Linked DNA regions of Homo sapiens: regions 2 and 3 are each linked to region 1. Evidence: promoter capture Hi-C in 16 types of primary human blood cells and fetal thymus (Javierre and others, 2016). All regions are on one chromosome and are shown on one strand. The core of a region is centred on a gene start or on the middle of the fragment in contact, and the rest is flanking DNA. Distances in the headings are between cores, read along the strand shown. Region 1 holds the start of B4GALT2 (beta-1,4-galactosyltransferase 2). Region 2 holds the start of YBX1 (Y-box binding protein 1). Region 3 holds the start of ZNF691-DT (ZNF691 divergent transcript).

Evidence for each region. The method cuts DNA at HindIII sites, captures the fragments that hold promoters and counts their contacts. A CHiCAGO score of 5 or more calls a contact.
Region 2: a contact is called between the fragment with the promoter of YBX1 here and the fragment with the promoter of B4GALT2 in region 1, in 3 of 17 cell types (naive CD8 T cells, fetal thymus and total B cells). The highest score is 6.5, in naive CD8 T cells.
Region 3: a contact is called between the fragment with the promoter of ZNF691-DT here and the fragment with the promoter of B4GALT2 in region 1, in 3 of 17 cell types (fetal thymus, total B cells and total CD8 T cells). The highest score is 6.0, in fetal thymus.

The regions. Positions count from the first base shown.
Region 1 is chr1:43,977,273-43,981,742 of GRCh38, forward strand. It overlaps B4GALT2 (beta-1,4-galactosyltransferase 2), which reads left to right and starts at 1,938. Exons shown (of 7, transcript NM_003780.5): 1 at 1,938-2,239; 2 at 3,837-4,201; 3 at 4,417-4,470. The coding sequence starts at 3,889. It overlaps ATP6V0B (ATPase H+ transporting V0 subunit b), which reads left to right. Exons shown (of 8, transcript NM_004047.5): 8 at 709-1,023. The coding sequence ends at 735. RefSeq lists enhancers at 640-1,231, 1,232-1,822, 1,823-2,414 and silencers at 1,832-1,931, 2,202-2,311. The HindIII fragment of the contact is 15,054 bases long and covers 1-4,470 here.
Region 2 is chr1:42,680,176-42,684,645 of GRCh38, forward strand. It overlaps YBX1 (Y-box binding protein 1), which reads left to right and starts at 2,243. Exons shown (of 8, transcript NM_004559.5): 1 at 2,243-2,556; 2 at 3,228-3,291. The coding sequence starts at 2,391. It also overlaps a transcript of PPIH not described here. RefSeq lists an enhancer at 1,899-1,948 and silencers at 2,389-2,588, 2,779-2,888, 2,999-3,148. The HindIII fragment of the contact is 3,657 bases long and covers 678-4,334 here.
Region 3 is chr1:42,843,688-42,848,157 of GRCh38, forward strand. It overlaps ZNF691-DT (ZNF691 divergent transcript), which reads right to left and starts at 2,727. Exons shown (of 5, transcript NR_186083.1): 1 at 2,570-2,727; 2 at 824-997. It overlaps ZNF691 (zinc finger protein 691), which reads left to right and starts at 2,926. Exons shown (of 4, transcript NM_001242739.2): 1 at 2,926-2,970. It overlaps ERMAP (erythroblast membrane associated protein (Scianna blood group)), which reads left to right. Exons shown (of 12, transcript NM_001017922.2): 12 at 1-1,304. RefSeq lists enhancers at 2,463-2,732, 2,893-2,962. The HindIII fragment of the contact is 2,341 bases long and covers 442-2,782 here.

The DNA of each region.
Region 1 (4,470 bases), core at 688-3,187:
CCTTCTGGAGAAGCTGAAGTGCTCTCCTTCTCTACCTATAACTATAGATTCCCCCAAACAGCTTCCACCTCCTCATTTCCATCTTCTGGTTTTCTCCTACAGGGGCTCTCTATTTTTGTCTCTGATTTGGTGTCACTGACAACAGCCCTGTTCTTTTTCCCCCCTTTCTAATGCGTTGTATCTGTATAGCACTTAGTCCTCCCTCTTTCTGTTCTCTCATTTTATCTGCCATGCTTTTCATGTCTCCAGTCTGTATTTGTGATCTAGACTAGAATGGAATTTTGTCTGTCTATATCAGTCTGTCATGGTGTGTTTGACTGTCTCTCGGAGCTATGTGTATCTCCCTCTCACATGCCTGTCAGTAGGACACCATTGTCTAAATTGTGTGTGTCTAGTCTGTCTGACAGTGTGTGAGTTTGTGACTAAGGATCAGCCTGAGGGTCTGAGTGTGACTGTGGGTGCTTGACTGAGTTGATTCTTAGTGACTAGCTTTATCCATATGCCACTTCTCTCCGTCTGTCCCACAGCGTAACTCTGTGGTTGTCTGTCCCTGTCTGCCTTGTCTGTCACAGTGTGTCCATCCTGGTTAGTCATATATCTCTTGTGGTCTGTCCATCCAACCATGTGCTAGATGTCATCTTCTATCATTTGTCACTGCCTTACCTATTCCTCTGTCCCTGCCTGATTTCTCCTGTTCTTTTTTTGCAGACCTCCAGAGTGAAGATGGGTGACTAGATGATATGTGTGGGTGGGGCCGTGCCTCACTTTTATTTATTGCTGGTTTTCCTGGGACAGCTGGAGCTGTGTCCCTTAGCCTTTCAGAGGCTTGGTGTTCAGGGCCCTCCCTGCACTCCCCTCTTGCTGCGTGTTGATTTGGAGGCACTGCAGTCCAGGCCGAGTCCTCAGTGCGGGGAGCAGGCTGCTGCTGCTGACTCTGTGCAGCTGCGCACCTGTGTCCCCCACCTCCACCCTCAACCCATCTTCCTAGTGTTTGTGAAATAAACTTGGTATTTGTCTGGGTCAGTGCAGCTTCTGTTGCCCTCTTGCGTCACCGTTCACAGAGGAAGGGTAAAGAGGCCTGTACGCCTCAGCCTCATGCCAATCCCTTGTCAGCTTTCTGACTGCACACTTCTGATCTGCACAGAGCTTGCTCCTAGGTGGGGAGGCACGGGTGCTGGGTGGACTCTAACCCCCAAACAGACTTGTTTGGGGATGAGGGAGTGTGCAGATAGGGGCCCCTGGGTGTGTTTGTGCCTGTAGTCCTTCTAGGCCCGTTTGCTCAGGGCTCTGACTGACCACCATGCCCGAATTGTCTGACAGCATCTACTTACCTGGTTGTACAGTCGGGCACCATCATCTCCGTCCTTGTGAGGCCTGGAGCCTAGGCAGTGGTCTCTGCCTCCAGTGATGGTCCTGTCCTTCTAGCAGCAGCCCCTCCCAGAAACCTCTACTCTGATCCTTGTTCCCAGGGCCCAGGGCAGCTCCTCCCACCCCATCCAATCTCGTTTTCTCCTTCCCTGACCCTGTTTCCTGTTACCCCAGAAGCCCCAGCCACCTCCAGCCCACGCCTTTAAGGGTCCTGCCCCCTCTCTGCTGGCCGACCTTGAATCTTGGTCCAATTAAAGAGTTGACAAATCCCTAGCCCCGCAGCCTGAGTCCGCCCAACCTCCAGGTCCCCTTCCTGGGGAGTTCGCGCTCCAATGCAATCCCCACTCCCCGCTAAGGGACTCCACGGTCTGCACCCGCTCGCCGGTCCGACCTCTAAGCCCACCCTTTGGACGAGCCTGACCCATTTCCTCCCGCGCTCCCAGGTCCGTGCCTCCTGGGTGCCCGGGTTCGGCCGCCGGCAGGGCGGGCTCGCAGCGGCGCGCGGCGGGTGCGGGCGTGCTGGAGGCGGGGGCCGCGGGGGCGCGCGCGCGGGCGCGCGGGCCGGGCCTGCCCCTCCGAGGCGCCGTAGCGCGGGAGGGAGGCGGCGGCGCTGTGGTCCGTGGGTCCGCCGGTCCGTGGGTCTGCCCGGCCGCCCGGCCCCGCCCTGCCCCCCGGGGCGGCTCGGCTCCATGGCCCGCGGCGGCGGCGGCGGCGGCGGCGGCGGGAGGCGACCCGGGGGCCGCGGTGGCCGCTGACCGGGCGGCGGGAGGCGGCGGGGCCGGGCCATGGGGGACGGAACCGTCCGCAGCCGCCGGAGCCGGGAGCCCTGCCCAAGTCGGAGCGGCGTCCCCTGCTGAGCCCCGAGCGCCGGGTGAGAGGAGGGCGCGCGCGGCCCCCACCCAGGGCCCCGAGATTCCAGACCCAGCCCCGCGAGGGGCACCCCGAGCGCGGCCCCGAGATCCCAACCCAGGAGCCGGTGAGAGAGGCGCCGGCGGCCAGACCCCGGCCTGGCTGCCCCCACCCCGCCCCCACTCCGGCGCCCCTCCTGGGCTTCTCCGCCCGCGTCCAGCCGGCCTCCCTCATTGTCCTCGCTCGCCCCGGCCTCGTGGCGCGGGGAGGCGTTCCATACACGTTTCCCCTTGGCCTTTGCCTCATCCGCTGCCCTCCACCCACTCCCCCTGCCCCCAGGCTCCACACCCACCCGGTCTGTGCGGCCTGCCCGTCCGCGGGTGCCACGTGTTCAGCCTGCCAGCCCCGCCCAAACGCACCCCTCAGCCTGGCCGCCAGCCTGACCCAGAACCCCTGCGCCGGAGGGAGGGTGGGAATGTCTGCACGTGGGTCTGGGTGTGAGCTGTCTGAGAGTCTGGATGTATGGCTGTGGAAGTCCAGGAGCAGTGGCCTTGTTTGTGAGTGTGGGACTTAGTGTGTTACTGTCACCCGGGTGTGTCTGTGACTGTAGTTCTCTGTGTGTCTGAGTGTGGGTGACCAGCTGGGACCAGGGTGTCCCTGTGATTCTGTGTGCCTGTGAGACTCACCCTGCTCCCTGAAGCACTGCCAGAAGTGGCTGCCGCTCTCTTGGAACCACAGCTGGAGCCATCGCCCAGGCAAGACCCCCTTCCTGCCATGCCCAGTGCTGTGCCCATCTCCAGGCCCAAGCATCCCGTTCCGGGAATCAGAACCAGCTGTGCTGGGCAGGACCCAGAGTCTTGGTCCCAGTCCCAAGGGGCTGGCTTTGAGGTCTTAAGTGAGGGGTGTCCCCTGCCTTGCCCCGTATTTTGACGTTTTGCTCCAGTGGGAAGGGATTCTGTAAACATCCAGTCTGTATTTGGGCCCCCCGGATGCTGAGGGCAACTTCCCAGCCTGGTCCCAGTTGGCCTGGCCTGCTTGTCGCTGGGATCTGAATGACCAAACCACTTCCCACCATGGCTCCTGGAAGGACTAAATGAAGTCATGAGTATAAAGTGCTCCTGCATGGTAGGTGCACAGTATTCCGTCTCTTCCCTCTTCCCCAAGCCATGAGTTCTGGGTTAAGGATGCTGCCATGTGAGGTGTCTGTTCTCAGGGGCACAGGGGCACATGGGGGTCTATAGGTAAACATGTCTCCATGCTTAGGTACAAACCAGTGTGGTTAGAGTTCACGTGTCTGTGTTCCTGGGAATGCGTGAGTGTGTGTGTAGAGTTGTGCAATAAGGGTGAGTGCCTGAGTGTGTGTGTCAGTGAGGTGGAGGAAGGTAAATGTATGTGGCTTAGTAGTGGGGTGTGCTTGAGGATGTGAGTACTGAGTTGCCGGGAACTGTGCCTGGGTGTCTGTTTGGAGGTAAATTCTTGAGTCTGTGAGTGTGAAAGGGTATGAGCAGGTCAGTGTGAGGTGTGGCCCACGAGTGTGAGCAGCTGAGTGGGAGGTAGGTGGGCAGCCTTGCCTGTCCTGCCCTGACCTGCTGGATCTGTTTCCCTCCCACCCTGCTCAGGCCAGCAGCCGGATGCCCGGGCCCACTGGGCGGGCCAGTGGCCGCCTGCGGGATGAGCAGACTGCTGGGGGGGACGCTGGAGCGCGTCTGCAAGGCTGTGCTCCTTCTCTGCCTGCTGCACTTCCTCGTGGCCGTCATCCTCTACTTTGACGTCTACGCCCAGCACCTGGCCTTCTTCAGCCGCTTCAGTGCCCGAGGCCCTGCCCATGCCCTCCACCCAGCTGCTAGCAGCAGCAGCAGCAGCAGCAACTGCTCCCGGCCCAACGCCACCGCCTCTAGCTCCGGGCTCCCTGAGGTCCCCAGTGCCCTGCCCGGTCCCACGGCTCCCACGCTGCCACCCTGTCCTGACTCGCCACCTGGTCTTGGTGAGCCTGGAGGGTAGGGCCTGCCTGTGGGGAAACAGGGTTTTATTGGTTTGACTAGAGAAATGGCATCTGGACCCAGGGGTGTGCCAGGGGTCCAGGTCTGTTGTAAGAGGGCTATTCTTGGGGTTCCCTAGCCCACCCCCAGGCTGAGGGTGGGGGCTGGTATCTGTGGATTCTGGCCAATGCCCTGATTCCTGACACTGTCCTGTCTGCAGTGGGCAGACTGCTGATCGAGTTCACCTCACCCATGCCCCTGGAGCGGGTGCAGA
Region 2 (4,470 bases), core at 993-3,492, 1.3 Mb before region 1:
ATGTAATACTCCAAACGTAACAGTGGCTAAAGGACTCCACTAGATGACAGTCCTTTCTCTACGATGTCCTCTGAAGCATGTTTACTTGGCTGGAGAGTTGCAAGTGTCTATTCTGTAGGGCCCTTGTAATATTTCACCATCTCCCTTGTCATCTGATACACTGAAGCAACACTTTTAACCAATTTCTATTTTCATAGAATTCAGCTGTTTGCTACCTCTGCTCCTGCAGTATCCTGCAGCCAGTAGTTACAAGCACCTGGAAGGTTGGACAGGGAATACAAGAGAAGACTCTAAGACTTCTCTTAGAAGTCATAGAGTCCAGTAAACCACATTATGGAATCTGGACTACCCTAAGGGTAATAGTAGTCACTGGAAGATTTTAAGTAAGACAGTGTCATGATCAGATAGATGTTCTCAAAAGAACTTTCTGGCTGTTGTGGTGGGTAATATTAGAGTAAGAAAGAGGTAGAGAGGTGTGGTTAGTAGCCAACAGCACTGCTCTATGCTAGGGGTCAGCCGACTACACTCCGTTTTTCTGTGGCTCATGAGCTAAGAATACAAATGGTTTTTAAAATGTTTAAATAGTTGAAAATATGTAAAGATTCGTGTCATGTAAAAATTAAGGCTGTTTTCAAGCTCCAAACCTGAGTAGTAAGTCAGAACCATATGGTCGGCCAAGCTTATATTATTAACTATTTGGCTCTCACAGAAAAAGGTTCCTACCCCTTGCTCTAAGCAATTGGTGATGATGGCCTACAGTAGTGACAGTAGGAATGAAAAGACTCTGAATTGACATTTAGAGGGTTTAGGACTGACTCAAGAACGCCTTTAGGAGGTGGAACTCACAGGCCTAGACGGCATTGGTAGGGGTAAGGAATACTGCATTAGCCTCCTAACTGCTTTCTCTACTTCCATTCCTTGCCCCTCTGCAACCCATTCTCCACTCCGCAGCCATTTTTAAAAAGATGCCCCTCCCTACTTATGACTCTAAAATTGCTCTTCTCACTCTTCCCCTCAGGATATATTTCCAATTAAATATACCTAAGTGACTGCCCACCTCTGCAACCCAATGTCACATTCGAGTCTTACTGAACTACTTGACTGCATTTCCCGAGATCTCACCTCTTCTCGCCTGTACCCTGTGCGCGGAAAGTCAGCCCTCCACCTTCTCCCTGCTTCCACTCCCAAAATACTTCGTGGTTTTGCAGCTCTGGAGTATTTACCGTGTTGGCTGTTTAAATTTCTGCCTCCATCAGAAGGCAGAAACTGACTCGCGAACTATTCCATCCCCAGCCGATAGTAGACGCTTAAAAAAGAACGAAAGAAGGTGGGTGGAGGACTTCAGTAACATCAGGTGGCAGCCTCAATTTTATCGTTTGTGAAACGTGGATAGTAATCCCTCTATCACGTGGCTGTTGCAGGAATAAAGTGAAAAAACAAAACAGGCTAGCTTGTTCAATAAATGTGAGTTGAATTAAATCTGATTTGTGGTCAGTAGAAAAAGATGTGAATACTTGGAAAGGAAGACACATTTTTTTAAATATATGCCTGGTAAAACGGATCAGAAGGCAGGTCCCCATGGAGCACACCCTCGCCCTAAACATGCTGAACCCGGGCTGCCATAGCCTGCGTGGTCCCTCCAAGGTGACTGCTCCGACAAAAGGGTACGCTCTTCAAACGCATACGTTTAAGGCAATTCCAGAAACCCTCGGCTGTGCCGCGACTACACGGCCATTAAAGAAAAGACGACTCTATGCCCGCCGTAATGTTCTCAGATCACAGGGACCGTATTTGGAGCTGGGAGGGAGGGAAGCCTTTTCTTCACGGGGGGCTAAGGCGTCTTCGAGCCCCCTTCCAATCCCGGGTCCGGCCGGGTAATCCCTGCCCAGCGTTCGGGCGTGCCTTTTTTTCAGCCGAGACACAACCCTGAACGTGGGGCCCGCCAGCCCGGCGGCTGCCTCGTGGAAGTCACGTTCCTTCTGCCCGTCCTCTCGGGTACTCTATGGTTTTCGTGGCCGACTACTCTAATTCTAGTTCCGGTCTCTATGGCGGCCGGCGGAGGCAGGAACGGTTGTAGGTCGACTGAATTAGCCGCCAAAGGTCCAATGAGAATGGAGGACTGATAAAATATTAGCCAATAGAAGCTAGGGATTGGGGTCAGGTGGGCAGATTGACAGTACCACTGGCCAGTGAACAACGCCTAGGGCGGGTCGCTCGTAGGGCTTATCCCGCCTGTCCCGCCATTCTCGCTAGTTCGATCGGTAGCGGGAGCGGAGAGCGGACCCCAGAGAGCCCTGAGCAGCCCCACCGCCGCCGCCGGCCTAGTTACCATCACACCCCGGGAGGAGCCGCAGCTGCCGCAGCCGGCCCCAGTCACCATCACCGCAACCATGAGCAGCGAGGCCGAGACCCAGCAGCCGCCCGCCGCCCCCCCCGCCGCCCCCGCCCTCAGCGCCGCCGACACCAAGCCCGGCACTACGGGCAGCGGCGCAGGGAGCGGTGGCCCGGGCGGCCTCACATCGGCGGCGCCTGCCGGCGGGGACAAGAAGGTCATCGGTGAGGACCGGACAGGGACGGGGGTGGGGCCCTCGGGCAGCCCAGCAGCGGAACCGTTAGCCGGAGCTGGGCGAGCCGGCGGGCGCGCGGCCGGTGGGCACCGACTCCGCGGCGCGCGGCCGCCCATCCCCCCCGTCCCCCCCTCACTCCCTCTCGCGGGGACCCGCCCGGCAGGCGCGCGCGCACTGCCTCCCGCGCCCCCTGTGGACCCCGCGCGGCCGCGCGCCCCTCCCCCTGCGGCCGCGCGCCGCCGACCGCGTGTGCGACGGGGTCCCCTCCCCGCCGACCGGCCTCGTGCGCTCGGGCCCGCACGCCGTTGTTCGCGTCACCCCCACCCAGCTCCCTTCCGCGTGTGCTCGGAGGGCGCGGCGCACCGCCTACGCAGGCCGGAGCGGCTTCCCCTTCCCTCACGTGCTCTCCGTCCGCGGCCTGCGCACACACCCATCCTGGGGCCCGCGCCCCGGGCCTGCCCTGGAGCGCCCCGCGCTTCAGACTCACCCACGTGTGCGGCGGCGGCGGCGACTGCGTGGCCCCGCACCCGGGCGGTGGAGAGAAAGGGCTGTCAGGTGGCCGCGGCGGCCGGCGTGCGAGGGACCGGATGCCCAAGCCGGGCGGATTTGGAAAAGGATAGCTGGTAATCGTGGCTTGTTTTGCTTTGTTTTCTTTTCCAGCAACGAAGGTTTTGGGAACAGTAAAATGGTTCAATGTAAGGAACGGATATGGTTTCATCAACAGGTGAGCTGCCGGGCTCTGAAGCCTCCATCCCACCTTCTTGCTTGCTTCCTGCTCTGTCGGCTTCTCGGGGCTTGGGAAGCCCCAATCCACAGCTCTGTTCTGAAAGGCGTTTACTACCTCTGGTGTATTAGTATGATTTTTTGTTGTTGTTGTTTTCCTTGATTAGGGATTAGTGGATCTAGAGAATGCCTTTGTTTTGCAGCTAAATATTAATTTGAAGCTAACTTAAAAGGCTTCGTCACAGTACAAAGCAATTCAAAAGGCAAGCGGAGTGAATGAGCCATTCCTTAACAGGGTAAACGGGAAACTACGGTCCAGTACATTTTTATCCTTGTCATCTTTTTCTACTTTATTGAACTCGGTATTTGAGAATGTGATCCACTGACATCGGATATTTATACATTGTTAACGTTTTAGGGTAAGAGGATTTGACTATATGAGGTTTTGTCATCTTTACCGAGAGGTTGTATTGCCTTTGTTTCACGTTTCATTTTAATACCTGAGATAAATTTTGTCTTAGCACAGCTTTGACCAGAGAGAACTGTTTTTATTTGCTCATCCAGTAAATAATATATTTACAAGAAAGTGGTTTTTTTTCCTTCTTCCGTTCTTATTTTTCATTCTTCCTTGTCCTAGAATCATAACTGGTTAAGTCGATTTCTGTTAGATCCCTGGCTGTAGCTTATTAGAGTGGCCATAGTCACTGGTAACTTGACATTTTTCTTCCTGTTTGAAGGCAAAGCTGCAGACACGTCTTTAGGACTTACCCTTCGGGTTGTTTGTAGGAGTGGTGGTGGTAACGTGCAGTAGACGCACTGTATTCCATGGGCTCCCTTGTAAGCCGGGCATCATTTTCAAGATGGCTGCCAAGGCTAGTAGTGCTAGTTACATGGGTGCAGAGCACTGGGTATGCCAGTAGCAATCTTGGCCTCACAGGTATGGTACTTAGTGCCATCTCAGCATTGTCTTGCTTGCTTACTGTAGAAGACCTAAGCAGATGATTAAAAGAACAATGTGGAATGGACAACAAATGGGCAAAATCAAGCTTAAGGACAGAATCATTGCCTGATGAAAAACTGTTCATTAATCAATCATAGAGTATTGTGGAAACACTCAGAGTAAGAGATAAGCATTTGGTGATCTATTCTCTACTTTTGCAATTGTGGGAAAATATTTTGT
Region 3 (4,470 bases), core at 1,477-3,976, 1.1 Mb before region 1:
AGTCAGCTCTCTAAAAGCAAGCATGTTTTAGACCACTCACTCTTTCCCTCTTTCTTCAGGAATGAATTGGGAAAGGCTGATGAGTAAAACATACCATCCTTTTCTATTTTCTTGATGCTGTTTACAACATAGTTTGGTGATATCCAGAGCTAATGTACATGCTTTCAAAAGCTAATCTGCCTGTTGATGGTAACTAGGTACAGCGACTTTAAATACAGTTGCTATAATCCTGAAAAGCCCCAGGAGCACATCAGGGAGCTGGGAAACACAGTTGCAGAGAACTCAGCTGTATGTTGCCCTCTGACCTTGGCCCAGACCTTCAGAGGCTCAGTCTGTTGAGTCTGTTGTGACTGTCTTATGAATCAATCTGTTGTGCCAACCCTTTCTGAGATTCAGAGAGGTCCAGCTAGAAAAAGTGGCAGTTTTAACCACCAACGTAGAAGCTTTTTTTTCCCCACAAGACCATTGTACTGCAATACTTGAGTATTTGTGTAGCAAACAGCCTCTTAGGTTGGAGAGTATTGATTTCAAATAGGAAGTTGGTAGACTAGGTGTGAGGATGAAATAATGACCTTGATTTTTGGGTGTGTATTGCAGAAGCCTCGTCGCTTTCAAGTCACATCATATATGCGATCTGGCCTAACCATGGAGATATTGGTTATCAGTTTGCAGATGAATACACAGTTCTATCCAACAGAAACTGTATCTTTCTGTTTGTCAGAAGTTCTCCGTTAGTTCCTGTATTAGTCAAGGTTTTCCAGAGAAACAGAATCAATATATATTGGGGCAGGGGGGCGGTGGTTATTATAAGGAATTGGCTCACGTGATTATGGAGGCGGTTAAATCCCAAGATCTGCAGGATAAGTCAGCAAGATGGAGTCCCATGAGAGCTGATGGTTTAGTTCCAGTCTGATGGCAGCAGGCTTGACGCCAAGGAAGAGATGATGTTTAATTCAAGTCCGAAGGCAAGGAAAAAGCTGATGGTCCTGTCCAAAGGCTATTAGGCAGGAAGAATTCTCTTAGGGCAGAGTTAGCTCTTTTGTTCTATTCAGGCCTTCAACTGATTCAGCAAGGCCCGCCCACATTTGGGAGGACAGTCTGCATTACTCAGTCTACTGATTTGAATGTTAATGTCATTGAGAAACACCCTCACAGGAACACTCAGAATAATGTTTGACCAAATAGCTGGGCATCTTGTGACCCAGTTAAGTGGATACATAAGATTAACTATCACAGTGACTCAGTGGAATTTTTTGTTTGCTTTTGTACAGTTTTAAAATAAAAGTTTGGTATTTGTGTTTTGGTATGCTGTTATTTTCATTGTGAATGAGGAGTTGTGGGGAAGGTAAGAGATTGGTTTCCAAAGAGCTTTGAGTCCCCCAAGGCAAGGTTTAGCCACCGTTCATACTAAAGCCATAGTTTTATTCCTGAGTCTGCTCTCTAGTATTTTATTTTATCAATTTATAAACAAATAGTGTTCATAAGGCACACATATTTCACTCAACCATATTCAGTTCCAAACATGCATTCCTGAATATCCCAATCTTAAAACTAACTCACATTGTCAGCTTGTGGAGGCAGAATACATGCATACATATACACATACATACATGAATATACATATAATATACACACACATATGCATACATACACATATACACATGTATACATGTATGTGTATATACATATCTGTACTACATAGGTGTATATATATGTATATGTATTTAGCATGTATGCACGTGTATATGTATACACATATATACATATGTATGTATAATACATATTCACACATGTATGCATGTATATACACATGTATACATTAGTATATGTATATACACATGTATGTGTATTATACATGTATATATGTACATACATATCAGTCTACTGATTTGAATATTAATGTCATCAAGAAATAACCTCAATATATGTATGTATTATAACCTTACAACTATATAAAACATACATACATATATATGTATATATGTATACACATACACATGCATGAGAATATATGTATGTATATATAATATCCTCACAGTAATTCTGCCAGGGATTTTATGGGGGAGGGAGTTGGTACTCCAAATGGCTAGGTGGTAGAGCCAGAGTTTTATACTTGGTTTATCTAGCTCTGAAGGCAATGCTCCTTGTTCTTTGCACTGAAACATTGTGCAGATACGAGAAGCCTGTAGTTTACGTATTTCATTAGCCTTTTATTATTTTAAAAAATAAAACCTGAAAAAAAAGACCTAGTCCTGGATACTTTGGTGATCTTGTTGTGTCTGGATTGACGAACACGTGTCAGGCTTAATTAGGGATGCACGCGGAACCCGGGAAAATCCCTGCTCAGGGGGGCTGGAAGACCTGGAGGTTGATCCTTGAACAGGGTACTTTTAGCTTCTCCGATAAGGAGATTGGGTTATTTTATCTTTAAACTCCCTTCCAGCTCTACCCTCCTTTGATTTTAAGTTATAAACCTTGAGTGAGGTGCCAGACTCTAGGCTTCGTTGGACGTCTACAGGACGGTCAAGGATTACCAACTCAAAGTAAAGAAGGAAATTTGAGTACTTGCCCCCTTGGAGGTTGTGTAGGTTGGCTATACAGATTCTACAACTTCCCAGACGAGTGGCCCTGAGACTTGGGGCTGAACGCGCGAGCACGGAAAGAAATCCCACCGTAGGACGGAACCCAGTCTCTTCAGCTCCATCCTAAACTTCGCAAGTTTTCTCTGAGTCTACGCGCTTCCTTAGGACTACAACTCCCAGCATGCCACGCCAGCGGTCAAAGCTTATTGGTGGTCCTGCCAGGTCGCTTGCGTTGTGGCAGTCATGGTAGCCAATGGAAATAAAGAATTATCCCAAGAAACCAATCCTGGAGTAGTAGGGCGGATCCTTCCTGGGTTCCGGCTCCGGCTCCAGCTCCTTCCCTCGCCTACAGAGGCGGCGCTGTCCCTGATCGAGCGGCGGGAGCGAGGTGGGTCCGGGTTGGGCCCGAGGTCGCGGGGGGAGGCGGACACGACTTCGCGGGAAACTCTGTACACGGCCACTTCCCTCTCACCGAGGATCTGGATGCTGCTGCTTTGCTCCCTGGACCGAGTGGGAAGCCAAGGGGCCTTGTGGTCCCTCCGCCGCGACCCTCGCCCTGGCCCCCGGCCCACGCAGCCAGGTGGCTGTCCCCAACCCATTCCCCGGCCCTTCTGTTGGGTTTGAGTATACAGCCTTCCTGCCGCTGACCATACGTTTAGGATCAGCCCCTCCTCCTCTCCCACCTCTCTGGCCCCAAGCCCGCCGGCAATCTCTGAAACCAGCTCTTGTACCCTTGGACCTCCGCCATTGGCTTCTCCCCGCCCCGCAACACACAACTCAGCTCTTGGGCCCTGGCCTGTGACACTTCTGGCAGCCTTTGCTTCCTCTTCCCTGACCGTCTCCTGCGACCCTCTGACTTCCTTGGTCCTCCTGTATCTCTGACCCGTTATCTAGCTTCCCTGTACAATTACCCTGTTAGCACCTTGCTCTTGGTCTTTCATAGCTCCTCTCTCCTCTTCCTCCCTGCAGCCCTTGACTTGGCCCCAAAGACCTGTAACTTCGGACCTCCATACCGCACTATGGCTTGGCCCCTTGCCTTTAACCTAGGCGCTTCACCTTCATCATCTGTGATCACTAGCCCCATCTTCTTGGCTCTTAACTTCTTAGACCTGGCCCCTCCTCCACTTCTCAGCCCCTTCCACCGTTGCTTCTCTCTGTGCAGCTGAGCCACCAGGAAGACAAAGCCCAATAGACCCCTTTTCCCCCCAGATCTCTGCAGTGTGATATGAAAGTGCCTCTGTACTTCAGCTGCACTGTCTTCTCAGTAGGTAGTTGCCTCTTTATCTCTGCAAGTCCCAGTCTTACCCATCCTGCAAACCTTAGGTCAAATACCTACTCCTCCTTGAAACTTCTCAGCCCTGATTTCATCAGGGAGATACATCTGTATCATGTGAACTTCAGTGGTACTGTTTTTATTTCCTTCCTTCCCGTCTTCTCTCCTTTTTTCCTTCAGTAATAGTATAATGGTTAAAAGCACTGACTTTGAAGTGATGGGCATAGGCCCCAGTTCTGCCACTTACTTGCTGTGTGCCCTTGGGCAAGATACTTAATTTCTCTGAGCCTCAGCTTTCTCATCTCTAAAATAAGGATGATGTGAAGTGAAATTAGATGATTCATATATGGTCCTTAGTCCACAGCTTAGCACTTGATTCGAGCTTTAAAAAAATGTTAATAATGTGCCAGGTGCTGTGTTAGACACTGAGGAGTGGGTACAAAGGTGACTAAGGCACAGTTCCTGCCCCTGTCCCCTGAACTTAACCTTCTGCATTGTATGACAATTTCTGGAGTTCACGGTCTGTTTCAGTACACTGTATCACAAACTGAGTGGTAATCATAATCCTAAATCCTTTTGCTCTTACATTGACCTAGCATCCAGCCCCGGGTAGAG